7 separate regions of the Homo sapiens genome follow, and all the other regions are linked to region 1. Evidence: promoter capture Hi-C in 16 types of primary human blood cells and fetal thymus (Javierre and others, 2016). All regions are on one chromosome and are shown on one strand. Each heading gives the region's core, a stretch centred on a gene start or on the middle of the fragment in contact. The rest is flanking DNA. Distances are from core to core; before and after follow the strand shown.

Region 1 (3,845 bases), core at 847-3,346:
CTAAAAATTATGAACTCAAATTAAAAGTCAAGGGAGTAAAACGGAGAGAATTCTGGAGGCCAGCCCGAGTCTGAGCACAGCGCAGGGTTAAAGGAAACCATTTCATAAGATCAAATGTGGAGAGGCAGCAGGAGCAAAGAGGAAAAAATCAAGTTACATAAAGTCCAATTGTACTCACTGTTTCCTTATTGGGAAGCAGCTCCTTTCTAATTCTGAAGAAGTTCTTCCCGTACTGCCTGAGTCCCTTAACGAAGCGTTTCTGTGATAAAAAGAAACAAATGGGATGTAAAAACCAAAAACAAAACAGGATGTCAGCAAAGCAAAGATATCTACAATCAGCAGAATAACAACCACAAAAAAAGTCTCGGCTAGGGAATACTGCCGAGGCTCGGAGAGTATGTCAGCAGCTCAGCTGGGACCCACTGGCCAGGGCAGGCCCCAGCTACCTTCATCAGAACCCCAATCCCACCCACCACGCAGGGCAGCGCGTTTAAGAGAAGGACGTCCTGCGTCTGAGGCTAAGAAGCAATCTGTCCCCCTCTTCCACCAGGCACACATTCTGGTGCACGAAGGTATAAATATGCTCCATGTTTTAATAAAACACAACTGCTTTCCCACCTGAGAACCAAGCTTCCCAGAAGTGTCGAGCAGAAAGGGGAAACAGAACCAAACCCGGTGACTCTTCTCCAGAAGGGAACCCTAGGGGGTTAAAAGGCCGCTTTCCTTAATCCAAAGAATTTGCCAGGAGGCACCGGAAGGCACCAGTATCACAGAAGCCCACCGGGAACACGAAAGCCAGCGGGCCTGCCCCACCGTCCGTCATTAAAAGCCACTCCGAGACACCAGAGAATAACCAGCACCCCTTCCGCCCTCCCGACGCCACTCGCCGCCCCCATCCATTTTCGCAGCAGACTCGTCCCTAACCCCAGCCCGGAGACTTTCACTTTGTCCCATGCCTCCCGAGCACCCCTCCCCGCCCCGGTGGGGGCAGCTCCTGGCTCCGAGCCCCCACCTCGGGGCTCCCAGCCTGGTCCCGGGCGGCCGACCCCAGCAGCCACAGGTAAGCGCCCGGGGTCCGGGGCGGCAAGAGGCCGTCGCCTGTCACTGGGCTCCGGCTCCACAAAGCGCAGGGCGGAGGCGGCCGCGGGTGGCTCGGCGTGTGACCGCGGCGGGGCCGCGCGGCGCGGGGCCCGGGGGGCGCGGGGCTGGGGCCGCCGCTGACGGGGGAGGAGGCAGGAGCGCGGCGCGCAGAGCCCGGCGCGGCCGCGGGCGGCTGCAAAAGGCGGCCTGGATTGCCGCCGCCCTCCTGTCCGCCAGCCGGGGCCCCGCGCCCCGGCCCCGGCCCCGCCCCCGGCCCGACCCCCACCCCGAGGCCGGAGCCTCCAGGGCACCCGGCGCTGGAATCTGTGTCCTCCTTCCGGACAGGAGAACATCAAGGCGGTAAAGCACAGAAACTTCCTCCCTACCGCAGCAAGCGTGGGGAGAGGGCGCCCACAGGGCTGGGGCCCTTCCCAGGCTGCTGGGTCTCCAGCCCACGTTCCGGATGGACGAAGTCGGCTGCGCCCCGGCCGCACGCCCTCCGCCCCAACCCCGCCTCAGCTGCGAAACGGGGGGCTGGCCCCGACGCCCCCCGCGGTCCCTTCCGGCCCGCGATTGTGGGCGGCCTCTCCCTGGCGGCCCAGGCATTAGCCTGCACTTCCCCGGCCGCCGCTTCACAACTAAATCACCGCGGAAGCTTCCCAGCCAATAAATCACCTGCCCACCGGGCAGAGGGTCCCTCCCACTCCCTGTGTTTGAGACCCGCCAGGCGGATTCAGTGAAGGGCCAGACTTAGCCTTTTAAGACCAGTCTGCAACCTCCTACTCCAGTAGTGGAGGCTTTGCGTTTTTGAATTTCACCCTTGCTGAGATATGACTCATCATTGTCAATTTTCAATATAATTCATACAGTTCGAAGGGAAAATCTCTCAAGGCACAAGAAAGCAGCAAGCTCTCCTCTAGTGTGAGGAGTGACCTTTGTTACTTGACAAAAGTATCGTTTATATGATCAACAGGCATCCTACGCTGTGTGCACACAGCATATCACCGGGAGAGACGGCACGGAAAGATGGCCCTGCCCTCAAGGAGCTGCAGTCTGCCCAGGAAGGCAGACAGGTAAACAAACCAGTCCTAGGGCCTGCAAGAAAAGCAGCAGAGGAACAAAGGGTGGTGGGTGAAGCTAGGAAGAGGAAGCAACTTACTCTGCTTGCTGATGTCTTAGAGGAAGTGACAAGGAAGAGTGTGAGCCTGCCAGGTGGGCTCCAGCAGGGCTTCCAGCAGAAGTCAGCCAGGAAAAGGCACAGGGAACATTCTGGGAACTGCAAGGAGGACAGGGTGTGCAGAATGGAGTGCCAGCAGATAAGACGAAAGAGGCAGGCAAGGATCCGGTTGCAGAGAGCCCTTCAGGCCGCACGGAAGAGTTCCTAATTGTAGGCTGGCAGAAAGGCTGAAGCTGGAGCTTTCCATGAAAAGACTGGATGAGGACTGTGCCAGTGGCAGTGTGGCCTAAGTGTAGATTAGGGACAGACCAGTTAAAGAGGCTGCTGACACAGTTCAGGTATGAGATGAGGACCTCAACTACTGGCACACTCCACCTCAGTAATCAGAATTCCTGCCGCTTAATCCATTCTTCAAGTATTCAGGTATTTACTGAGCACCTAGCTGAGAGGGGTCTAGGAAGATAATAAAGGTTGCCATGGACCTTTACTGAACTGTGATTCATTTTTGCACGTAAGATAAGTATGTGTGAAGTCATTACAGAACATTCTGAGATGTCATCTGGCCAAGCATAAAGAAGTGAGGTGCAGCTCATCAGTGCAGCAAGGGACCCAAGAAGGCTAGACTGCAGTGGTCTGTAGTAGTTCAGAATGCCTTCGCCAAGGCAGTGACATCAGCGAGATCACAAGGGGTGGGCAACTATTGCAGGGGTGGGAGGTGGCTTGGTGACCGGGCCCTCCGTGAAGGTCAGAGGTGGAGAATGGGAGGTGGGTTACAGGGGACAGTCTACACAGACTTGGGGCGGGCAATCTGGAGTGAGCCAGGCTGTGGAACGCCAGGACCATGCAATCGGAACGTGGGCTTGATACCAAGTGACATCTAACAGGTCCAGTAAAAGAGGCCTACACAATAAAGGCAGCATGTGAGAAAGGCTGACTCTGGAACATCAGGGTAAGGTGGCAGAGTTGGACAAACAAATTCAGATCCTGTTTCTTCCATTTATTGTGATGCAATCCTTTGAACATCATCCATTCAACCAATAGTTACTAAGTACCTACTATATGCCAGGAGCCTCATATATATTAATTCGAAATCTTTACAACCTAAGAAGAAGTACAATTATTATCCCCATTTTACAGACAAGGAAGCTGAGGCACAGATAGGTAACTAGATCAACTCCTCAGAGACAAAGCCAGAATTCAAACTTAAGCCCCCTCAAATCCTCAGAGCCACACTCTGTAAAATGCAGGCAGGCGTCTACAGTGGTAACTATTTTCTGTTACCATTTTCTATGAGTCTGTACTTTCCTCTTCTCGGGTCCAATGTCAAATCATAAAGTCCTCAGTATTCTTCCTAAGAAGTGTCTTTCAGCCGGGCGCGGTGGCTCATGCCTGTAATCCTAGCACTTTGGGAGGCTGAGGCGGGCAGACCACAAGGCCAGGAGATCGAGACCATCCTGGCTAACACAGTGAAACCCCGTCTCTACTAAAAATACAAAAAATTAGCTGGGCATGGTGGTGGGCGCCTGTAGTCCCAGCTACTGGGGAGGCTGAGGCAGGAGAATGGCGTCAACCCGGGAGGCGCAGCTTG
Region 2 (3,845 bases), core at 702-3,201, 450 kb before region 1:
GAGCCCAGGAATTTGAGGTTACATTGAGATGTGGTGATCACACCACTGCACTTGAGCCTAAAGGACAGAGCAAGACTTGGTCTCTTAAAAAAAAAAAGTAAAAATAGGCCAAGGGCGGTGGCTCACACCTGTAATCCCAGCACTTTGGGAGGCCGAGGCGTGCGGATCACAAGGTCAGGAGATCGAGACCATCCTGGCTAACACGGTGAAACCCTGTCTCTCCTAAAAATACAAAAAATTAGCCAGGCGTGGTGGCGGGTGCCTGTAGTCCCAGCTACTCGGGAGGCTGAGGCAGGAGAATGGTGTGAACCTGGGGGGCAGAGCTTGCAGTGAGCCGAGATTGCGCCACTGCTCTCCAGCCTGGGCGACAGAGTGAGACTCCATCTCAAAAAAAAAAAAATTATATAAAAAACAGTAAAAATAGAAAACACACTAGCAGTGTGTTTATACCATTGAATATCCTGCACCACTGTTGTGGGCACTACACCAGAAATAGGAAAAAATGTGATGATGAGCTGAGCTAATTGAGATGAGGGTTATGGGAATGGAACAGAGGAGTGATGGAAGAGATTTGGATCTTTTAAATTGGCAAACAGAAAAATAAGATTCTTTTTTTTTTTTTTTTTTGTTGAAATGGGAGCTTTGCTCTTGTTGCCCAAGCTGGAGTGCAGTGGTGCAATTTCGGCTCACTGCAACCTCCACCTCCCAGGTTCAAGCGATTCTCCTGCCTCAGGCTCCCGAGTAGCTAGAATTACAGGCACCTGCCACCATGCCCAGCTAATTTTTGTATTTTTGGTAGAGACGGGGTTTCACCATGTTAGCCAGGCTGGTCTCGAACTCCTGATCTCGTGATCCGCCCACCTTGGCCTCCCAAAGTGCTAGGATTACAGGCGTGAGCCACCGCACCCAGCCAAGATTATTCTGAAGTGTTGCAGTTAGGGATTGGAAACATTTTGAACACAAAGAATATTAGCCTAGTCCTTAATATTGAGTGAATGAGGAACGCAAATTGGAAGGGAGTCTATGTTGAGAAGAAAATTAAATGATATTTACTTTGAGTAGGGGAGGGGGAGGAAGTGTGGAGTTGGAGGAGTGGACAGTTGTCAGCTGAGATGCCCAGGTCTAGGAATGAGGCCTCTGGAAGCAAGGTCTTGGCCACCTGGAGGAGCTGGGGAGTTGGCAGAGGTGGTCATTTTGCATGTTACCACAGGGTGGTGCTGTTGGCTGCAGAAGGGGACATGGTCAGCTGCGCCCTCTGCACTGTAGTGCAGAGTACAGAGCGTTTTCATCCATCAGAATCCCAGGTCCTGGGAGAGTGAAACGTCTCTTCTCCAGTATTCCAAATAGGGTTCTGACGCCCCAGAAAGCAGTGATTATGAGCTTACCTGATAAGTATGAAAGACATCAGTAAATTCCTGAATCCAACTGTAACATAAATTTATTCACATCGTAGCAGTGATTTTATTACCACCTTGAAGGGAGCAGCCTAAAAATTCTCGTTCACCGATCACTTTCCTCACTGTGCTATCATCTATTAAAGTTTACTTTAAAATGCAAGATGATGTAGGAATTTCTTCTTAAATTCTTACCAAATAAAAATTAAAAACAATTTATAAATCCATTCAAATAAAAATTGATAATTATTCAATTCTTACGGACTTCTAAAATTTGCTACCATACATAGCTGTCTTGTGTGTAAAAATAACGTGGAGAAGAGACATTTGAGGCTTTTGATTTAAGAGCTATAAATCAGGACTTGGTCTGAAACTGACAGCTGATATTAGGCAGAAAGCTTATGTAATTAGGTAGTATTTGTGTGATCTTCCTGTTTGTAACAGCTACGGTCTGAGTAGCTTGTGGGTATATTATATAATTCCTTCCTTGGAGTCTTGTTGAAAAATGAAAGGACAGTAAGACCAAGACCTCTCAGGTTTGCTGACACTAAAAGTGTACAAACTGTGCCACAGGATCTTAGCCATCCAGGGCACCTTAAGTGTTTCCAAGATCAAGGTGCTGTTCTGAAACGTATCCTTCTAAGTGTCATGTGAGGCCTTAGAAAGAATGTTTATATGTGTGGCTTAGAGGAAAAAGGTAGAATGAATACTTTGTAAAAAGCTTTAAGATGAAATAACAATGAAAGGTATATAAAATCTTTGTTTTTAATCCTTATTTAGGACCATTACATACGCAATATGCTTGTGACCCTCCCTGAAGTTGGCCGTTTTCAGTGAATACATTTAAATAAAAATCTCAAGTTAGGACCTGCCAATTTGGAAAGACTTCATCAACTGACACTTCCATGTGGTTCTTTGCTTAAGTAGCTTTCATCACGTGATGCTAGTGCCTTTATATCTCACACTTCCAGGCACTTCACAGGCTATCTCCTTCAAGGACAGTGTGCTGTCCATTTTAATCCTACCACCTGGCATACTTGGGTGGATAGGTGGATGAACGAGTGTTAATTTCCCATTTTATTTATTTATTTTTTATTTATTTTGAGACAGAGTCTCGCTCTGTCGCCCAGGCTGGAGTGCAGTGGCACGATCTTGGCTCACTGAAAGCTCTGCCTCCCGGGTTCACCCCATTCTCCTGCCTCAGCCTCCCGAGTAGCTGGGACTACAGGCGCCCGCCACCACGCACAGCTAATTTTTTGTATTTTTAGTAGAGACAGGGTTCCAGCGTGTTAGCCAGGATGGTCTTGATCTCCTGACCTCATGATCCAGCCGCCTTGGCCTCCCAAAGTGCTGGGAATACAGGCATGAGCCACCGTGCCCGGCCTAATTTCCCATTTTCAAGTAGAAAATAAGATTACAAAAGAGCAATAAAATCCAGAAGTTCAGAGAGTACCAGTTGCCTTTAGCATGTAACTAAATCTTTCCTTTTACTAAGAGTGAGGTAAGAAGTTGAGCCCGCCCCAGTGATCCTCCCCCTCCTTTGGACTCCTGGTATATGTGGTCCCTGTTCTGGGGATGGGGAAGGTGAGAGAGGTGAGCACATTTTGTTTATCTGTGTATGCTCTGCTGGTATCAAGGTAAATCTTCTTGAGTAAATGGTTATTGAAGTATTTTGAGTTTCTGTGCTTTTGCCAGATGTGCTCAGCAAATCGTTTGTTATAAACATACTTTATCTCTCATACTAGGAAGTGTTTCATTTCAGAATCGTAGCTGTATGTTTGGTAAGAGCCTCTTGATTTTGAAGAATACTTTGCTGTTGCAGTTTTTGTTGTTGTTAGAGAAGGGGTCTGTGTTGCCCAGGCTGATGTTGAATTCCTGGGCTCAAGCAATTTTTCTACCTAGGCCTCCCCAATTGCTGGGATTACAGGCATGAGCCACTGTGCCAGGCACTATTGCGATTTTTTAAACATGGGCTTTTCTATATCTGCACTTAGATCTTTTTATTTTTATTCTTAGGTCCTACTGCTCTGTTGGCTCATGAAATAGGTTTTGGAAGTAAAGTTACAACACACCCTCTTGCTAAAGACAAAATGATGAATGGAGGTAAGTATATGCTTGTTTTTGTTTGTTTGTTTGTTTTTTGAGATGGAGTCTCGCTCCATCGCCCAGGCTGGAGTGCAGTGGCGTGATCTTGGCTTACTGCAATCCCTGCCTCCCGGGTTCAAGCGATTCTTCTCTCTCAGCCTCCTGAGTAGCTGGGATTACAGGCGCATGCCATCACACCCAGCTAATTTTTGTATTTTTAGTAGAGATGGAGTTTCACCATGTTGGTCAGGCTGGTCTCAAACTCTTTTTTTTTTTTTTTTTTTTTTTTTTTTTGAGACAGAGTCTCGCTCTGTTGCCCAGGCTGGAGTGCCATGGTGCGTTCTCTGCTCACTGCAACTTCCGCCT
Region 3 (3,845 bases), core at 499-2,998, 440 kb after region 1:
CAAGTGATTCTCCTGCCTCAGCCTCCTGAGTAGCTGGGACTACAGGTGCCTGCCACCACGCCTGGCTAATTTTTGTATTTTTAGTAGAGATGGGGTTTCAACATATTGGCCAGGCTGGTCTCAAACTCCTGACCTTGTAATCCACCAGCCTCAGCCTCCCAAAGTGCTGGGATTAGAGGCATGAGCCACCGCACCCGGCCTCATTTTTGTATTTTTAGTACAGGCGGGGTTTTGCCATATTGGCCAGGCTGGTCTTGAACTTCTGACCTCAGATGATCCGCCTGCCCTGGCCTCCCAAAGTGCTGGGATTATAGGCATGAGCCACTACAACTCGCTTCATCTCTCACTTTTTAATAAACGTATTCTTCACACCCCGTGTTCAGCATTACCCTAGAACAGTACTTGCTGCAACATTCAAGTTTTCCATCTGCTTAATCCAATGCAGTGGGCAGCAGCTACAAATGGCAGCTACCGGACACATGAAACCTGAAGCTTGAGAAACCGAGGAGTGGAATTCATTCATTTAAATCGGGTCCTGAGGTCTTCTTGATGCCCTTCTGCCTTCCTGCCCAGAGCTCCCATTTAATCCTTCTTTCACCTGCTTTCCCCAGGAAGAGACCCTGGGAAGAGAACATCTCTTCCCAGGATGGTCACCTTTACCCTGAAGTCCTTCTGGTCTGAATATGGCTGTGTAACCTAGTAGCTACCATCCTTAAGATTATCTACAAATAGGCCTGCATTTGAAGTTTCTTCCAAACAAGGTGTCCAAACAAAGTCTCGCTCTGCCTTCCAGCTTAGACTCTGTTTTGACCCCACTATCCTGGAGGGACCGTGTATGTCTCTTCTCTTGCCTTTGCCTCTGGTTCCCTTCCCAAGGACCCAGGAAAATGACCCCAATGGATCCTCATCCTTTTCTGTTACGACACCAAACCTTGGTTCTCAAAGGCCGACACCCTTTCGCCAGGGGCCCCTGAACACTAAGGACAGACCCAGATTGTTCCAGACATACACAGGCACACGGAGTATTCTCATGGGTCACTGAGGCTTTTTATTTTGAGCACAAAACCACCGGGGATCTAGCCTGTGGCCACCCCGGAGATGACACGAGGCTCACATGACTCTAGACACTTGGTGGAAAGTGAGGCGAGAAAAACAATGACTTGGGCCAATTACACGACTGCAAAGCTAGAGCTGCCAACAGGGCTCCAGGGAGCTTGGCTTCTGTAGAAGTTCTAAGGAAGCGGTACGAACTCCACGGCGGTGGGGCGCTAACTAGCAGGGACCCCTGCAAGTGTTGGTCGGGGGCCTCGAGCTGCCTGAGCTGACACGAGGGGAGGGGTCTGTGTAGCCAACAGGTGACCGAAGGGCTTGCCTGCCCACAGCTTACTTGGCCAAGGGGTTTCTGAAGTTCCTGCCGGCAAACTTAGCCTTGCTGCCCAGCTCCTCTTCAATTCTTGGGAAGGAGAAAGGTAAAGAGATGGGGAGGAAAAAAGAAAAGTCAGACCTCAAGTTTTAAGTTTTCCCATCCTAGATGTGGTCAAAGACACAGCCCCACTCCTGGGAAGTTGAGAACACAGAACTCTCCAGTTTGTCCACCTTCTTTAAACCCTCTAAACTTGTGCTTCTCTGAGAAGCCAGATATAGAAAAGTATTTAGTTCTCCTCATCCCAACTCACCATGCTAGGTGCCCTCCACCCACCGCCCCTTCTCTTCCTCTCCTCTCCCCGTCAGTGTTGCAGAGGAGCAAAGTAAAATGTCAGCATTGCCATTTCTTGGAATATAAAAATTCTAATGCTTTTGTTTTTTAAAAAATATTGAAGGGACAACAAATAAATGGCATGGGGAGAAAAGGAGAGTGACCTTATTAAAAGACAAAATGTGTGAGCTGTTTGGATCTTGATGTTAAAAAAAAAAAAAAAAAAAAAGGCCAACACATTTTGGGGCCAGGCACAGTGGGAGGATCACCCGAGGTCAGCTTGACCAATATGGTGAAACCCCGTCTCTATTAAAAATACAAAACAATTAGCCAGGCATGGTGGTGGGCACCTGTAATCCCAGCTACTCGGGAGGCTCAGACAGGAGAATTGCTTGAATCTGGGAGGCAGAGGTTGCAGTGAGCCAAGACTGAGCCACTGCACTCCAGCCTGGGCGACAGAGTGAGATCCCTCTCAAAAAAATAAAAATAAAATTCCCCAGCAAAAAAAGAATGGGAGTTTGAGGCTGCAGTGAGCTATGACTGCCCCACTGCACTCCAGCCTGAGTGACATGGCAAGACCCTGTCTCAAACAAACAAAACAACAAAAAAGCCCTGCGTCTACTGTTCACCTGCTTTTTTGTATATGTTTGAAAATTTCCAGGATACAGTTTGAATGAAGGGGTAATATGGGAGAACTTAGCGGGGTGGCGGGCGGGGGGACAAGTCTCCTGGTGTTCAGGGGCTTCCCAAGGACACAGACAGGAAAGGGAGACCAGAACAGCCCCACAGCGCTCACAAGTGGAAACCCAGCCATGTGCCCTTCGGCCTTTTCTTCCTCCCTCCCAGCCCTGGCTCCACATCCACAAACAGGGGTTAAATGCGCTGAAACAGATCATATGAAGGAGCTCTCTGAAAGCTCTAAGAAAGTCATGCATCAGCTGTCAAAGGGGGTCCCATTCTTTCTCACCAGAAGAGGGCAGCACTGTGTGGAACAGGCTCCTGCCTCTGGTGGCGCTGCAGTGGGTGGGTAGGGGGAGTCTAGGCCTAACTCTGTCCTGACCTAAGCCTGCTCAGGGCCTGGCTGTCTGCACTGTGCACCTGCACCTGTACATGTTCCCAGAGCCAGGAGCTCCTGGGGGAGGGCAGTGCCTACACTGAGTGCAGGCCCCCACCTAGTGAACCACAGGCCCCTTGTTCTCAGGAGCCCTCCTTACCTGAGGAGCTGGTTGTACTTGGCCAAGCGCTCAGATCGGCAAGGGGCACCAGTCTTGATCTAGGAGAAAAGAAAGGCCATTTGCTTACAGCGGACAAGCTTTGCAGGCATTTCTGGCAGGGAGAGGGTGTGGTGTCAGAGAGAGAATTTCTAGAGGATCTGATGCTAGGAAAGTGGGGGCCACAACATACAGGCAGGGCGCTCATGCCCCCATTCTGTTCAGCCTCAGAAACAAGAGCACTGACTCAGGGGACATGAGCAAAACGGGGACAGACATGGAGCCTCACTGGTTTTGGGTCTTCCTAGGAAGTTGAGGTCAGAGAAGAAAGGAGGAGACGCTCATTCTTACCTGCCCAGTGCACAGCCCCACAACCAGGTCAGCGATGAAGGTATCTTCAGTCTCCCCCGAACGATGAGACACCATGACGCCCCAACCATTGGCCTGGGCCAGCTTGCACCTGGAAGCCAAGGAACAACCCAGATGGCATGATCCCATTTTCTGGTTCCATAACCCCCAATGCCATTACCCCTCGGTGCCAGCAGGAAAGCAGTGGAGGGGCTGTTAATGGCTAAAGCCCTCCATGCCTGGGCTTTGTCAAGAGCACAGAGGAGAACCCTCACCCTCCCCTGAACTCTTCCACCCCCAGGACCTTCTTAGCCCTCCTGTCATAGTTGAAACACTGGGTTCAGCCTCCCTTGATGGGAGAAAGATTAGTGTTCTCTGACAGAGCTCTTCACAGAATACAACTACTTGCTATGTTGCCCAGGCTGGTCTTGAGCTCCCGAGCTCAAGTGATCCTCCTGCCTTGGCCTCCCAAAATGTTGGGATTACAGGCCCCAATTGTTTAATTTAAAAGGCTCCTGAGTTCAAACACAAAACCTGTTAAAATTCCAGCGAGTCCTACATTCTGGCCAGCAGGATTCCCCATCACCAGA
Region 4 (3,845 bases), core at 688-3,187, 420 kb before region 1:
CTTCATCTCTTGACCTCATAATCTGCCCGGCTCGGGCTCCCAAAGTGCTCGGATTACAGGCATGAGCTACTGCAGTGGGCCCTGTTCTTATTTTTTATTTATTTTTAGATGGAGTCTCTGTTGCCTGGGCTGGAGTACAGTGGCGCAATCTCGGCTCACCACAACCTCCACCCTCCGGGTTCAAGCGATTCTCCTGCCTCAGCCTCCTGAGTAGCTGGGACTACAGGTGCACGCCACCATGCCTGGCTAATTTTTGTATTTTTAGTAGAGACGGGGTTTCACTATGTTGGCCAGGCTGGTCTCGAACTCCTGCCCTTGTGATCTGCCCGCCTTGGCTTCCCAAAATGCAGGGATTACAGGTAGGGGCCACCGTGCCCAGCCTAACAGCCTGTTCTTATTTCACGAATATAATGTTCTGTCTAATCTCCAAGGATTGTTTTAACATGTTTGCTTTGTGAAATGTTTGCATGGGGAGTTGCATGTTTATTGAGTTTTGTACTTTTCTTGATATTAATTTTCCTCAAATGCTTCGCAATTTAAATTTTGGGCTCATATTTCAAAATTCCTATTCTCCTGTCTGTTGAACCAGGTTCTGATGACATGAGTTTGCCTCTGATAACCACAGCAGAGGAAACACAGGGCAGTGTGAGGAAGGCTGAGTCCTCTCAGTCAGGAGGGCCTTTCTAGCCCACCTAGAAATAGTGCAGATTTCTTGCTACCCAGGGTCTTGCTGTGCCTCTTGTCACCAGTGCTCTGGCCTGTGTGCACATACTCACTGTGACACAGTTTAGCATGAGAGAGGTGGGGAAGGGGGCGAAGGCAGCTGGCTGATCCTCCAAAAGCCCCCAGATAATCACCCTGACTCCTGCCCCAGGGCTCCTTCCTGTTCCCTATTTCCATAAAGGGCAGAGCTTTCTCAGAACTCACAGCCACCTTCACAGAAGTCATCTCCTATAGATTTTTTTGTTTGTTTGTTTTTTGAGACGGAGTCTCACTCTGTCCCCCAGGCTGGAGTGCAGTGGCAAGATTTCGGCTCACTGAAACCTCCGCCTCCTGGGTTCAGCAATTTTCCTGCCTCAGCCTCCCGAGTAGCTGGAACTACAGGTGTGAGCCACCATGTCTGGCTAATTTTTGTATTTTTAATAGAGATGGGGTTTCACCATGTTGGCTAGGCTGGTCTCAAACTCCTGGCCTCAAGTGATCCACTCGCCTCGGCCTTCAAAGTGCTGGGATTACAGGCGTGAGCCACTGCACCCGGCCCCTCCTGTAGATCTTTTAGCCTTTGGTCTTTTCTTTGGTCTTATTTCTCCATCACACAAGACCCATCTGTTTTCTATCTTTCATGAATTCCTGAAACAGTCTGGTATGCCAATAAACACTTTTGTTTTTCAGTAATGGGTTTATTCTGAATTTCAGGAGATTTTCAGATGTGTAGCAGGAGGGCTATGGGACTCTTTGTGGCCCTCCATATCCATGTTACATTACACTCCTGGCTATGACCTGTCACATAGTTGTTCTGTGCCACTTTGATTAACAGCACAGTGTACCTTGTCTTGGTTGGTCTTCATGCTTACAGGAAAAAGACCTGCCAACATCAGGATTTGTAACCAGAAAAGGCATTGAAAACATATCCTCAAAATCAGGCTATCAAATTTTAGAAGGAAACCTTTCAGACCTAGAATCAGTTATGGAGAAGTGAGATGATAAACAGTTCCAGAAACTGTAAATGGACTGCTTCTAAGCCACAACTTGTCTTCGTACACACTGATGTATACATAATATGGCAAAGTTTTATGTGCAACTGAGGGTGTGGCATTTATGATTCAGAAAGAATGAGTTCGTGTAGATGGAAATGGGCATTTGGGTGGGGATTAGGCAAGGACAGAATTATAATGCACGCCGGGTGGATGGTAACACCTCTTTTTGTCTATACCAAAACTGTTCAGAGAAAACTGTATCCATAAAACTGACTTTTTGCGATTACTAAATACATAGAATCATTTAAGTATCCAATTTGAGAAAAAAAATTACATGAGTAGAAGTCATCCACAGATGAGTAGTCCAGGTTTTAGAGGAAAAAAACTTTAAGTGAACATTTCAGTTGGGTAAATTCAGTTTCTCACTGAGAATCTTCTCAATCTCATCTTGCCAGATGACAAATGACTGTCTATTATTGTTAAGGTTTGTGGACTCTTACAAAAGGAACAGTCGAATTGATTCAGCATCAGCTAAGCATGGAAGAAAAAAAAATATGTAACTGTGAAAACAAAAACAAAACAGATTTCTGGCTGCTGTCCTCAGAAGCCTCCCGCACAGACGATGTTCCTGACAGGATCAACAAACGTCGCATTTCACTGTCCCACAGTGCAGCTTCGTCCATCAGCCACTGACTGGCATGGGCCAGGAGCAGTGTTGGTCTCGGTGACAGTGACTTCCTTGCCCTGCTCTGAATGAGTGTCCTTTCTGTGAAAGTAGGTCTCATGGTTCTAGGGCTGATCCCAGCGCCATCCCACAACATTTCAGTGTGCCCGACAGCGTGCCTGGCAAGCAGCGAGCTCCTGACAATTGGAAGCTGCTAATGCTGTTACAGACATCTGCAAGCAAGTCAGATCAGCCAGCTTCCATCACGTGAGACACCTTGGAGGACAAAGCCACATTGTGTGGAGGAAAACACACCACCATTCAGGCCCATCGTCATCCTGCTTTCTCCTATACTCAGTCTCCCACAGTGCCAGGTAGTTTTCTGCCTGTACTAAGAAGGGTGAATGGAAAGGTGAGATGTAAAAACAAACAAACAAACAAGGGCTCGAAATGTCTATGGGAAGATAAAATTGTAGCAGTGCTTTAGAAAACAAGAAGCGCATGATTAAATGGACTGTTGTTTTCTTTAGAATGCGGGTATTATCATTGGTATTGAGGTGACGCATTAGGACTTTGAGGTGCCTCCCCCACCCTGGCCTCTGCGCTGGCAGTGAGAACCCAGCCCGTGCTATCTTCACAGTTCTCAGCCCATGGAAGCACAGGCCACCTGGGCTCCTGCAAACACCAGACGTGTAATTAGAGGCTCCTGGGCTGGGATGATGTGGTGTGCAGACAAGTCTTATCACGCGTCTGAGCCGCTGTGGGTGCCTGGAGTTGCCTCTGCAGCCCGGAGCGGATGAGCGGAGGCTCCCGTGACTCACCCAACTGCAGGAACTGTCAACTGGCTTCTGCCCAGCCAAGAACTTTTATCAATCACTAAGTAGAGACACTGTGTACAAGGACACCGGTTCATCCAAGAACATCAGGACAGCCAGGAATTCAAAACACAAAACACAGCTTCCTGCATGTTGCACCCCAGGCGGCTCTGAGGCTCAGCCCAAGGAAGGTTTGGGGCTCGGGCCAGAAAGACACGATTCACTCTGACTTACACAAGAGGGGAGTGTACAAAAGTCATGCAGTCTCAGGGGAAGGCACTGGGCTAAACCCTCATGACTGTAAAATGAAGAAATAGGCATGAAGCATGACTAGGGTGTTTATTTGACGAGGACCCAGAGTTATGTCCAAGGAATGAAGGCGTTGCCTTTCTACAACAGAGCAAAATGTCAAGTTAACTGATAACATGTACATTCCTCAGGACTGGTCCCTCAGTGAGACAGCGTTTTTAGCGGGGAAAAAAAGAACAAATATAAGTGTTTTCCTGGATGCTGTTTTAGGGAGCTTGCTACAGGTTTACTTGCTTGCGGTTCCTGGTAGGTTTCAGGATTCCCAGGGTGAGAGGTGATGGGCCAAAGAGAGGCACGCTAAACTGATAGCCTGAGATCACAGCTTCCTTCCTTCCTTTCCTTCCTCCCTTCCTTCCTTTT
Region 5 (3,845 bases), core at 367-2,866, 410 kb after region 1:
TACAACACTTATCCAGGTTAATTTCTCCCTTCATTTTCCAAGCAGTTATTTTATAACCTCTCCTTTCTGCTCAAACCTCCAACACCTCCTCCCTTCCCCTCACTTCCAGTTAATGGCTTTCTTTCGGTTCACTGTGAATGTTGACACAATCAGCAGAGAAGCTGTGTGATCTCCCCCCTCCCCACACCTATCTATCATTCTCTAAATCCCCACGCTCTGGGCTCCTGCCTACTATTATAGACAAAGCATCTCTGCTATTAGAGCCCAGCCCTCTGCCTGTGCACTTGATCCAGTCCCCTCTGATTACTCATGGATATCACTCAGAAATTATCCCCTCTCTCTGCTACATCAGGGTTTTATTTTTTATTTTTTATTTTTTTTGCTCTCTGCTGGATCATTCCCATTAGAATATACATAAGATAGGCCAGGCACAGTGGCTCACACCTGTAATCCCAACAGTTTGGGAGGCTGAGGTGGGCGGATCACCTGAGGTCAGGAGTTCGAGACCAGCCTGACCAACATGGTGAAATCCCATCTCTACTAAAAATACAAAAATTAGCCGGTCATGGTGGCACATGCCTGCAATCCCAGCTGCTTGGGAGGCTGAGGCAAGAGAATCGCTTGAACCCGGGAGGCGGAGGTTGCAATGAGTCAAGATCGTGCCATTGCACTTCAGCCTGGGCAACAACAGTGAAACTCCATCTCGAAAAAAAAAACAAACAAAAAGAATATACATAAGTTTTTTTTATTCCCCTATAATAAGGCTTCTCTTAACTAAGCTTTAGACATTATCTACTGCCCCATTTCTTTGCTCCCTTTTCCAGCAAAACACCTTTGAAAGAATGATCTACATTTGCTGTATCCAATTCCTTGTTTCCTATTCTCTGTAAAATCCACCCCAATCTCACTCTAACTCAACCTCTCCTCCAAAACTTTTCCTATCAAAAGGAAGAGCCAGTGGCTCACACCTATAATCCCAGCATTTTGGGAGGCCGAGGCAGGAGGATCACTTGAGGTCAGGAGTTGACCAGCCTGGTCAACATGGCAAAAACCCCGTCTCTACTAAAAACACAAAAATTAGCTGGGCATGGTGGCGCATGCCTGTAATCCCAGCTACTCAGGAGGCTGAGGTACGAGAATCGAATCGACTGAACCCGGGAGGTAGAGGTGGCAGTGAGCCAAGATTGCGCCATTGCACCCAGCCTGGGCAACGGAGACTCTGTCTCAAAAAAAAAAAAAAAAAAAAGGAGAGCCAGCTGGACTCCAAAAGAGAGCCCATCTTTCTACCGAGCCCAGCCCAGGTGACCCCATTTTGCCTCTCTCCCAGGCTTGACCACTATGCCATCATCAAGTTCCCACTGACCACCGAGTCTGCTATGAAGATGGAAGACAACAACACACTTGTGTTGATTGTGGATGTTAAAGCCAACAACACCAAGTCAAACAGGCTGTGAAGAACCTCTATGACGTGGATGTGGCCAAGGCCAACACCCTGATTCGGCCTGATGGAGAGAAGAAGGCATAAAGGCATATGTTCGACTGGCTCCTGATTATGATGCTTTGAATGTTGCCGACAAAATTGGGATCATCTAAACTGAGTCCAGCTGGCTAATTCTTATCTGATACAATTGATCACTGTTCCTGCCTCCTCTTTGCCAGAGGGGCTCTTGCAATTTTGTTGAGTTTTACCTCCAGAAGCCCAACTGGGTTCTCACAATGATCTGAAAAAAATCCCCTCATGCTTCCAGCAGGGGGAGAGGAAAAGCAGCCGTTTTGGAATACACCCAGAACACTCTGATTTTTTCAGGGGATTTTTTTTTTCTTTTGAGACAGAGTTTTGCTCTCCTTGCCCAGGCTGGAGTGCAATTGAGTGATCTTGGCTCACCGCAAACTTCGCATCCTGGGTTCAAGTGATTCCCCTGCCTCAGCCTCCCAAGTAGCTGGGATTACAGGCATGAACTTCCACGCCTGGCTAATTTTGTATTTTTAGTAGAGATGGGGTTCCTCTATGTTGGTCAGGCTGGTCTTGAACTCCTGACCTCAAGTGATCCGCCCGCCTTGGCCTCCCAAAGTGCTGGGATTACAGGCATGAGCCACCGTGCTCGGCCCAGAACACTGTTCTTAATAAGGCCTGCCCTGAAAGGAAACTACAGTCATACACTGCATAAGACGTTTTGGTCAACAACAGACCACATATATGATGATTGTCCCAGAAGATACCATATTTTTACTGTACCCTTTTAATGTTTAGATTTGTTTAGATAGGGCCAGGTGCAGTGGCTCACGTCTGTAATCCCCCAGCAGCACTTTGGGAGGCAGAGGCAGGAGGATCCCTTGAGCCGGGAAGTGGAGGCTGCAGTGAGCTGAGATCCAGTCACTGCACTCCAGCCGGGAAGACAGAGCAAGTCTCTGTCTCAGAAAAAAGAAAGAAAGAAAGAAAGAAAACAAAAGAAGAAAGCTTTATCAGACAAACAAAAATTGAGAAAATTCACATCCGTAATCCCAGCATTTTGGGAAGCTGAGGCAGGGAGGGCCCCTTGAGCCCAGGAGTTCAAGACCACCCTGGACAACATAGTGAGACCCCAGCCTCTACAAAAAATTACAAAACTTAGCCAATCATGGTGGCACATGCCTACTCTGGAGGTCAAGGTGAGAGGATCACCCAAGCCAGGGAGATTAGGGCTGCAGTAAGCCATGATTGTGCCACTGCACTCCACCCTGGGTGACAGACCAAGACTCTTGCCTAAAAACAAACAAACAAAAAAATTAAGGACATTTTTGCCGGCAGACCTGCTTTTCAAAAAATGTTTAAAGTATTTTTTTGTTTTTGTTTGTTTTTGTTTTTGTTTTTTGAAGTGGAGTCTCACTCTGTCGCCCAGGCTGGAGTGCAATGGCGCGATCTCGACTCACTGCAACCTCCACCTCCCAGTTCAAGTGATTCTCTTGCCTCAGCCTCCCAAGTAACTGGGACTATAGACGTGCACCACCACACCCGGCTTATTTTTGTATTTTTAGTAGAAACAGGGTTTCACCATGTTGGCCAGGCCGATCTCGAACTCCTGACCTCTGGTGATCTGCCCGCCTAGGCCTCCCAAAGTACTGGGATTACAGGTGTGAGCCACTGCACCTGGCCTAAAGTTTTTTGTTTTTGTTTTTGTTTTCCTGGGCACAGTGGCTTAATGCCTGTAATCCTAGCACTTTGGAAGGTCGAGGCAGGCAGACTGCTTGAGCCCAGCAGTCTAAGACCAGCCTGGGCAACATGGCAAAAACTCATCTCTACAAAAAACAAAAAAATACAAAAAATTGGCGACATGTGGTGGTGCACACCTGTAATCCCAGCTACCCAGGAGGCTGAGGTGGGAGGATCACCTGAGCTAGGGAGGTCAAGGCTGCAGTGAGATGAGATTGTGCCATTGTACATCAGCCCGGGTGACGGAGTGAGATGCTGTCTCAAAATAAAATAAAATAAAATAAAATAACGCTGGGCGTAGTGGCTCATGGCTGTAATCCTAGCGCTTTGGGAGGCTGAGGCAGGCAGGTTGCCTAAGCTCAGGACATCGAGACCAGCCTGGGCAACACAGTGAAACCCTGTCTCTACTAAAATACAAAAAATTAGCCAGGTGTGGCAGCGTGCGACTCTAGTCCCAGCTACACGAGAGGCTGAGACAGGAGAATTGCTTGAACTCAAGAGGCGGAGGTTGCAGTGAGCCGAGATGGTGCCACTGCACTCCAGCCTGGGCAACAGAGTGAGACTCTGTCTCCAAAAAAATAAATAAATAAAAAATTAAAATTAAAAAAGTTTTTAAGAGAGATGAAAAATGACATTGGTCAGAAATTCAGAAATA
Region 6 (3,845 bases), core at 456-2,955, 400 kb before region 1:
TGTGAACCACCTTTTCCTGTTAACTTGATTCTTTTCTAAATTCAACGAAAAAAGAAGCCCTAAAATCATTTGCTTCTTGAGGTTATCCTTTTATTAATCCACTTGTATAGCTTCAACTCATAGACAGCTCCTGAATCAATGACTCCAGCCTGGCTCAAGCTTCAACTTTGCATTTCCTATTGTCTGGTGATTATCTTTCCACTTGGATGGCCCTCTGGCATCTCAAACTCTACAAACCAAACTCCTCCTTTCACTTCATACTCCATTCCCCACTCCCCAAACCAGTTCAGGGTCTAAGAGGATCACACTTCTCAAGGCACCATTTTTAACCTGAGGCCATGTACATTCAATTGCCAAGTTCCACAGACTACTTTTACATGGTTTCTCAAATCTTACCCTTCCATTGACAGGCATCATTCTTCCTGGGGTCTGGCAATATGCAACCTATTCTACAACACTAGTACCAAGTCAATATTCCTTAACAACAGCTCAAGCTAAGATTTGCTGCTGCTCAAAAAACCTTCAAAGGCTCCTAAATAAAACCTCCTCAGCCTGGCAATTTAGGGCCTCCACAATATAAACCTAATCTATATTTTCAAGCGCGCTTCTATTTTCCCCAAATCTCTGTTACAATTCGATTCATCCTTTAAGGTCAGCTCTACCCTGCCTTCTCCATGAAGCCGCTCCCTTTCATGAAACACTGGAGCAGCGGTGCTCTGTTCTTGTGTTATTTTGTGCTGGGCCCCAATTCCCCTTCCACTCTTCAAATCATCTAGGACAGAACTGATGTCTGATTTATGCTTTCCCCCTGTAGATCTTGGCATCATTCATGTCTATTATTTATTAAATGGATACTGAGAAAATATCCATCTCATTTTTAAAAAGTAATGACATGAAAGATTCACATACACTGTGAGTCAGTGAAGAGCTCAGGGGAGAAGCAGATTTATAAAGGATAAAGTTAATGCGTGCTGGAGTGAGGCGACTGCCCAATAATAATGTAACAACCTTAGGATATGTAACAGGAAGGAATTTTTATGAAATTCATTTCCAGAATTCAAAGAAGACAGTTTGTAGACTGAGTAAAAATTATAAGCTTCAGTGGTTAACAGTGTAGCTTTCTAAACTGGTTTCTGTTACAGTATATTTACTTGAAGCAATTGGGGGGGTACTTTCTTAAAACAGTGTTTTGCCTTCTCTTAAAACACTATTCCTTCTAGACTGTGTTTTTGCTGCTGAATTTAAGGTGACTTTCATTTTTCTAAAAAAGTTACACCAAAAGCACACTGCACCTTCTTCATTAAGGTGAAATCATATGCCTTTAGCTTGAGGACAGTCTCTTTGAAACTGCTTAAAAAAAAAAAAAAAAGAAAAATGCAGGCTACCTTAAGGCAGTAACCTAGATATGCTTACCTGGCCACCAGATCTCATTAATAAATCTCAGAAGCCATCCATGGGAGGAGGAGGGGCACATTTTTGTCATACAACTCATCCAGTTCTGCCCAGTGCTTCCTTATTTAAGAGTGTGATGTAATTTCCTCCTTTCAATCTGGTTCTAGAACCTGATTTCTGTTTATTCAGGGTGATAAATGGTCTTTTCAGTTCCATTTAAGAATCACCTACATTAAGTACTTCCATAACCAAGGAAGATAATAAGGTAACTACATTTAAAGGCAAAATTTATAAAAGGAAACTGATTTAGGAATATGACAAACTCCATGATTTTAGATCCTCCCCAAATATACCAATCTCTGCATGTTTATTTTTTAAAATGTCTAAAATAATCACCTGTGAGGAAATTAAAACAAACAAACAAACAAAAAAACACCAATTTTTTTTTTTTTTTTTTGAGACGGAGTCTTACTCTTGTCACCCAGGCTGGAGTGCAATGGTGCACAGCACAATCTCCACCTCCCAGGTTCAAGCGATTGTCCTGCCTCAGCCTCCCGAGTAGCTGGGATTACAGGCATGCACCAACTCGCCAGGCTAATTTTTGTATTTTTAGTAGAGATGGGGTTTCTCCACATTGGTCAGGCTGGTCTCAAACTCCTGACCTCAGGTGATCCTCCTGCCTCGGCCTCCCAAAGTGCTGAGATTACAGGCGTGAGATACCACGCCCGGCCCAGATTTCATTTTAATAGCCTATGATTTAGGTAGGGGTAGGAAAAGAAAGAGGGAGGCAAGTTAAGAAAACTTCCTTAGTTGTACTCTCTACCATGGTAAGCATAAGTAGCCTTTAAATTAAAAACATAGATTACTTTTAAAATAATGCCATGTTTTAATGTAATTAAAATACTCCTGCATGAATTCAAGAAAAGCTTGATGGCTTCAGTAAACATTAAAATATAGTTCAGTGTGGCAAAGATGAACATTTGTGTCTGTGTTTGCAGCTCCATTCCTCAGAGGCTCTTAAACATGTCCAGAACATAATGGACCATTTGTAGGTGGTGAAATAGAGGCAACAGAGAAAATAATTTATCTTCAAACTGTCAAATAAAAAATAAATGACGTAATTTATTCAATAATTCAGAATGCTTTCTAGCTAAGTATTTTAAAAAATGGTAAACTAACAAAAAACCCATTCCCTCAACTACCATAATCCAGTCTTTCAACTCACTTAAGCCTCCCACACAATTTTAGTGTGACAGCAGAAAAGTAGGATAGCAGGAATACATTCTTTTGTCCTTTGTATTTCTCCTACAGAGTAGCACAATCAGTAACTATATATACACACAGAGGGGAGAAAAATATTATTTCTTTTTGACATATAACAATAGATTATTTCTTACTATAAAAGTGAATTCTAATCTAAAGACAACGAGCACAATGGTCTAATGATGGGACGCAAGTCTTTAAAACTTCAAATTTATTTAACAAGCATTTAAGTTACCCGATGGGTAACTCTAGATTGTTACAATTAATATAAAACCATTAATGATAACTAACATTCACTGGACATACAACTGCCAGGCAAGCATGGTTCTAAGTGCTTTATGTGTATGAACTCATTTAATCCTCTCTACAATGCCATAAGGTGGGCTACTATTATTACTCTCACTTACTTGAGGCACAGAGTTAAAGAACTTGCTCAAGGTCAAAACTGGTGAGCAATGGGGCCAGGACTTCAACTAGACAGCCCGGCCTCAGTGTCCAGGCCCTTCACCAACACACCACACTGCCTCTTCCTGTCCCTACGGCTTTTTAAACTGGCGAAGTAGGATCCGACTGACTATACTGCTCAACTTGTAAGGGTAGCACAGATCCTTTTTTATGGATTTACTGGTAATAGTTTTTCTTGGGTAACCTGTAGCCTATGAAAGTTCCTGTTTCACTTCAACTCCCTCAAATTCTCCTATTAAAAGTTATTAATTGTAGATCTGGCCTATGTATCCTCTAAAATGGGTGGGTTAAGGCATCAATTTGACATTCTATTACCACTTCAAACAACTATTTTGAAGCCCTCAGTCTTTAACGATCCACGGATGCCCCACCACAACAGAACTCTTTACAACATGGTTATTTCATATAACACAAGTCTGTTTTTACTCGTAATAAGCGGTTACTACATATACCCAACGGGCCTCCTTTTAACATGCTTTCACAGCATGGATCCCAATGATGGCATTATAATCACACTGTATTGTAAAATCCGGAATTTAACAATAGCATACCTTATATTTGTAAAGCACTCAACAAGTTACAAAGCACCTTCTTACACATTATCTCACTTGATCCCCACAACATCCCTGTAAGAAGAGGCAGGGATTAGAATCTCCATTTTGCAGATGAGGAAACAAAGTGAGGTTAAATATCTTGCTATAAGCAAAAGGGCGATCATGGCTCTT
Region 7 (3,845 bases), core at 524-3,023, 370 kb after region 1:
GAGATGGCTCGGGGGAGTACAGGGGCCAGGCAGAGCACCCTGGGCACAGCCCTGAGGCTTTCCAAATGAAATGATCCCAAAACTCAGACCTGAAGAATAAACAGGAGCTAAGAAGCAAAGGAGGGGGAGATAAACAGGTATGAATCAGTGGGTGCTCAGGGTGAGAGGCAAGAGAAGACATGAAACAGAATATGTGAACTATTATTTTTTAAAAAACTAAAGTAACTTCTATATTTGATGGTAGAATTTTTGGTAAAATTTATCTTGTATAAAATATGATACTAGGCTGGGCACAGTGGCTCACACCTGTAATCCCAGCATTTGGGGAAGCCGATGGGGGAGGGTTGCTTGATCCCAGGAGTTCGAAACCAGCCTGGGCAACACAGCAAGACCTCCTCTCTACCAAAAAAAAAAAAAAAAAAAATATATATATATATATATATATATGAGAGATACTAAATGAAAGCCAAATACTTTACCAACCACTCTGGCTTCTCAAAGCTTATCTGTCCTGTGGCTACTACCTCTCTTTCCTTCAGCCTAACCTACTATCTGACCAAACACGAGCAGTGGCAGGAAGCAATTTTAACACGTCACACAGATGCACACATAACTCTTTATCAGGACTGACCAATACACTTCCCATCCCCACATTACAAATTTGGGGCCAAAATTACTCAGACAGAGATGTACTCTCCAGTCTCTGGCTGACGTGCTACCTTATTACCTCGCCCCAATTCCCTTCAGGTGCCAACAGACACTCCGTGCCTAGCATTCCAAGCCTGTCTTCTTTGGTCTACCTAACTTATCTGGCACTATTCCTCCCCACAAATTCTGTACTTCAACCAGGTTCTCTTTACTGAACGCTGCGCATACCATATGCATTCCTGCCTCAGGCCGACCCCTGCCTGGACTGTCCTAACCTGCTCTCCCAGTCTGCTATTCAAACAGCACCCATTCTTCGATGGCCCACTCAGCTTTTCAATGGATCTTTGGTCAACTTATTTAATCCACACCAATCTCTAACCTGAAACTGAACTAAATTTGTTATGCTAAACAGTAAGTACTTGGTTAAATTCCGCTTTTGTTCTAGAAATCTCTAAATGTTGTATTCTTGCAAGGCTTCCCTCCTAAATTCTGAGGCCAAAGATAGTAACTTTTATTTCTTTTGTATCCCACTAACAGCAACATTAAACTTGGAAAACACACCTCCCACACCTGTTGGCTAGCTGACAGATCCTGGATGGAAAGATGAGCCAGAGAGCATTCAGTGCCAGTTGCTTTTCTCTGGAACTGCGGGTTCAAGCACCAAGATTAGGACTAGACTTATGTGCTCCTTTGGGACAGGAAATGGCATATGTACTGAAACGCGAGATAGTTAAAGGACACCCCCCCAAAAAAAATTAAACATGAGGAAAAACATGTGTTCCTAATGTGGGCAAACCCCACCATATTACAAGTCTCCCCAGTACCTTCTATACTATGTAGCTAATAATACAAATAAATAATAAATCTAATCTATTTGATAAATGAATAGATTTAATACCACTAAGAGAAATATGAAGGTAATAGGTATAACCAACAGCCTAGAGTTTAATAAAGCTCCAAGGTAATCCCTGTATCAATTTATAAGATGCTAATGAATTATTTTTACAGTTTTTCAAATCCTTCATATAGAAATAAACTAAGCCATTTTCTAGGAAGAAAAAAGGTCAGGCTTTACTTACAGAGTCTTGCTCTTGTTATCCAGGCTGCAGTGTAGTAGCACGATCTCAGATCACTGCAATCTCCACCTCCCAGGTTCAAGCAATTCTCGTACCTCGGCCTCCCGAGTAGCTGGGATTATAGGCATGCGCCACCATGCCCAAATAATTTTTTTGTATTTTTAGTAGAGATGGGTTTTGGCCATGTTGGCCAGGCTGGTCTCAAATTACTGACCTCAAGTGATCCACCCACCTCAGCCTCCCAAAATGCTGGGATTACAGGCATGAGCCACCGCACCCGGCCCAGGCTTTACTTCTTTAGGGAGACAGGGTGGTAGGGGTTTCATAATGAACTGAAAAACCAAACACTGTGTCCCTTTCATTTGGCAAGAACTCCTTTTCCAAAGAAGGGACTCAGAAAAAATGAAATTACTTATATAACGTCTGAGAAATATTCTTAAAAGACAACAAAACATACAGAAAGGTATTTTGGATTCAGGAGAATACAACCTCTTCCAAAAAGAGATTTACTCTCTACTCCCTAGGAACTACTAATGACATGGAAAATCCCACTCAAGTTACATGAGGTCACACACCCACAATAAAGGTAGCTGCCTGAAGGTGGTCTGCCAAGATAAACACCAACTTGTTAACTCCCTAAGTGCTATGCAAATGCCCAAGATAGTATATGCACACTTAATGACTCTCTACATTGTTGGAGCATCATGTTTCTACTATTACTACAGTTCTTTCAGTCTGTATTTTAGTGGGGTTTTTTTCATATCTGTTCCCCACTTTTCATCATGACCTCCAGGAGGGTAGGGACACATCTTACTCATCTTTATATCCCCAATGCCTAGCATTATATCTTGCAAGAGACACTAAAAAAATAAAATTCTGCCAAATGAATGGGCAAGCCCAAAATATCACTCAGATAATCCCTTATTAACAGCCAAATGCCCAGGGGAAGGGAGACTTAGATGACAGCACCTTCCTAGAAAATATGGCCTGAAATTACAGATCATTTCTACAACAAGTTACATTTCACTTACTAAGCAACTGGTCTATCTTTTCAGAATAAATTTTACTTTTCATGATCAGTGTAAGTATACGGGAAGCATGATTATTCTGAAATCTCTTCTTTTCAAACTAAACACATAGCTCCTGGACACCCACAGGAATCATACGAGAAGAGGGAGAGGCAGTAGACATTAGTTTCAAACCTATAACTCTTTAAGAGTCAAACAAAAGTAGAAAATACTAAGAAAAGAAAACTTGTCAGAAACCATTTAAAGACAAAGGACACCATCATCTCCCAGAATTTATCATCAACAGAACAGGTGAAGCTTAACAAAGATAAATTAGGCCGGGCATGATAGTTCACACCTGTAATCCTAATACTTTGGAAGGCCAAGGTGGGAGGATCGCTTGAGCCCAGGAGGTCAAGGCTGCAGTGAACTATAATTGCACCACTCCAGCCTGGGCAACAAAGCAAGACCCTGTCTCAAAAGAAGGAAAAAAAAAAAGAAAACAAAACAAAAAGACAAAGTATAAGAGCGCCTTCTTCACTTAATGAAGCCCAAGTTATAAATTCTTATAACCCATTAAGTTTATAATTGAAAGAGTATCAAGCATATAGCTTTATCTATGCACATAAAAACAAACATAAGTTCAGTAATTCATACCAGAAACCAGGTAATCACAAGTCCAACAGTTTACCTTATCTTTGAAATACACTATGTAGTTGGCTAATTTCACAGTAATCAATTCTTACGGGATCCTCTTATAATAGCCACTCAAGGAGAAAATTTCAAATACTGACCTCTAATTCAATGTAATACAAATAAGAGGTCTTCCATCCAGAATTATATCAAATGGCCACAATTCCTTTCTCAGTAACACCATAAACAGGCTGAAGCTCTCCACAAATCTTCTCTGTAAGTGGATCCCACGGTGGTTGTGACCCGGTGCTGAGCGCACATACAGTTACTCCTAGACAATCACCTCCTAAAAGAAGACAGATGACTATCACTGTGACTAAATGAAACAACTTCAAAAATGCAGCTCTGCCAACTAGTTTCATTAGCATTTTCCAAACAAAACAGGTGTCACAGACAAGCTCAAAATAGTCAAACTCCTCTC

The links. Contacts are between HindIII fragments. The CHiCAGO score rates a contact against its expected background, and 5 or more counts as called.
Region 2: a contact is called between a fragment that was not itself captured here and the fragment with the promoter of RERE-AS1 in region 1, in 1 of 17 cell types (naive CD4 T cells). The highest score is 5.5, in naive CD4 T cells.
Region 3: a fragment that was not itself captured here is called in contact with the fragment with the promoter of RERE-AS1 in region 1 in 2 of 17 cell types (naive B cells and erythroblasts); the score reaches 6.0 in naive B cells.
Region 4: a fragment that was not itself captured here is called in contact with the fragment with the promoter of RERE-AS1 in region 1 in 6 of 17 cell types (total CD4 T cells, M0 macrophages, M1 macrophages and 3 more); the score reaches 8.0 in total CD4 T cells.
Region 5: a fragment that was not itself captured here is called in contact with the fragment with the promoter of RERE-AS1 in region 1 in 1 of 17 cell types (total B cells); the score reaches 5.4 in total B cells.
Region 6: a fragment that was not itself captured here is called in contact with the fragment with the promoter of RERE-AS1 in region 1 in 8 of 17 cell types (total CD8 T cells, activated CD4 T cells, non-activated CD4 T cells and 5 more); the score reaches 6.4 in total CD8 T cells.
Region 7: a contact is called between a fragment that was not itself captured here and the fragment with the promoter of RERE-AS1 in region 1, in 3 of 17 cell types (megakaryocytes, erythroblasts and naive B cells). The highest score is 8.2, in megakaryocytes.

Annotation. Positions count from the first base shown.
Region 1 is chr1:8,422,549-8,426,393 of GRCh38, forward strand. It overlaps RERE-AS1 (RERE antisense RNA 1), which reads left to right and starts at 2,097. Exons shown (of 4, transcript NR_125999.1): 1 at 2,097-2,153. It overlaps RERE (arginine-glutamic acid dipeptide repeats), which reads right to left. Exons shown (of 23, transcript NM_001042681.2): 12 at 179-259. RefSeq lists silencers at 897-1,236, 1,547-1,686. The HindIII fragment of the contact is 3,073 bases long and covers 1,734-3,845 here.
Region 2 is chr1:7,974,242-7,978,086 of GRCh38, forward strand. It overlaps PARK7 (Parkinsonism associated deglycase), which reads left to right. Exons shown (of 7, transcript NM_007262.5): 6 at 3,411-3,497. Among named protein-coding and RNA genes, the nearest start is that of PARK7, 14 kb to the left of the region's middle. The HindIII fragment of the contact is 323 bases long and covers 1,791-2,113 here.
Region 3 is chr1:8,859,977-8,863,821 of GRCh38, forward strand. ENO1 (enolase 1) reads right to left here. Exons shown (of 12, transcript NM_001428.5): 10 at 3,259-3,367; 11 at 2,911-2,969; 12 at 1,024-1,453. The coding sequence ends at 1,384. Among named protein-coding and RNA genes, the nearest start is that of MIR6728, 4.7 kb to the right of the region's middle. RefSeq lists an enhancer at 2,554-2,848. The HindIII fragment of the contact is 2,516 bases long and covers 491-3,006 here.
Region 4 is chr1:8,001,807-8,005,651 of GRCh38, forward strand. LOC124903834 (a long non-coding RNA gene) reads left to right here. Exons shown (of 2, transcript XR_007065451.1): 2 at 2,182-3,845. Among named protein-coding and RNA genes, the nearest start is that of ERRFI1, 23 kb to the right of the region's middle. RefSeq lists a silencer at 2,963-3,257. The HindIII fragment of the contact is 5,450 bases long and covers 1-3,845 here.
Region 5 is chr1:8,829,786-8,833,630 of GRCh38, forward strand. It overlaps the pseudogene RPL23AP19. Among named protein-coding and RNA genes, the nearest start is that of RERE, 14 kb to the left of the region's middle. The HindIII fragment of the contact is 1,679 bases long and covers 778-2,456 here.
Region 6 is chr1:8,018,722-8,022,566 of GRCh38, forward strand. The region is part of intron 1 of ERRFI1 (ERBB receptor feedback inhibitor 1); the gene reads right to left. Among named protein-coding and RNA genes, the nearest start is that of ERRFI1, 5.7 kb to the right of the region's middle. The HindIII fragment of the contact is 1,222 bases long and covers 1,095-2,316 here.
Region 7 is chr1:8,788,879-8,792,723 of GRCh38, forward strand. The region is part of intron 1 of RERE (arginine-glutamic acid dipeptide repeats); the gene reads right to left. Among named protein-coding and RNA genes, the nearest start is that of RERE, 27 kb to the right of the region's middle. The HindIII fragment of the contact is 2,548 bases long and covers 500-3,047 here.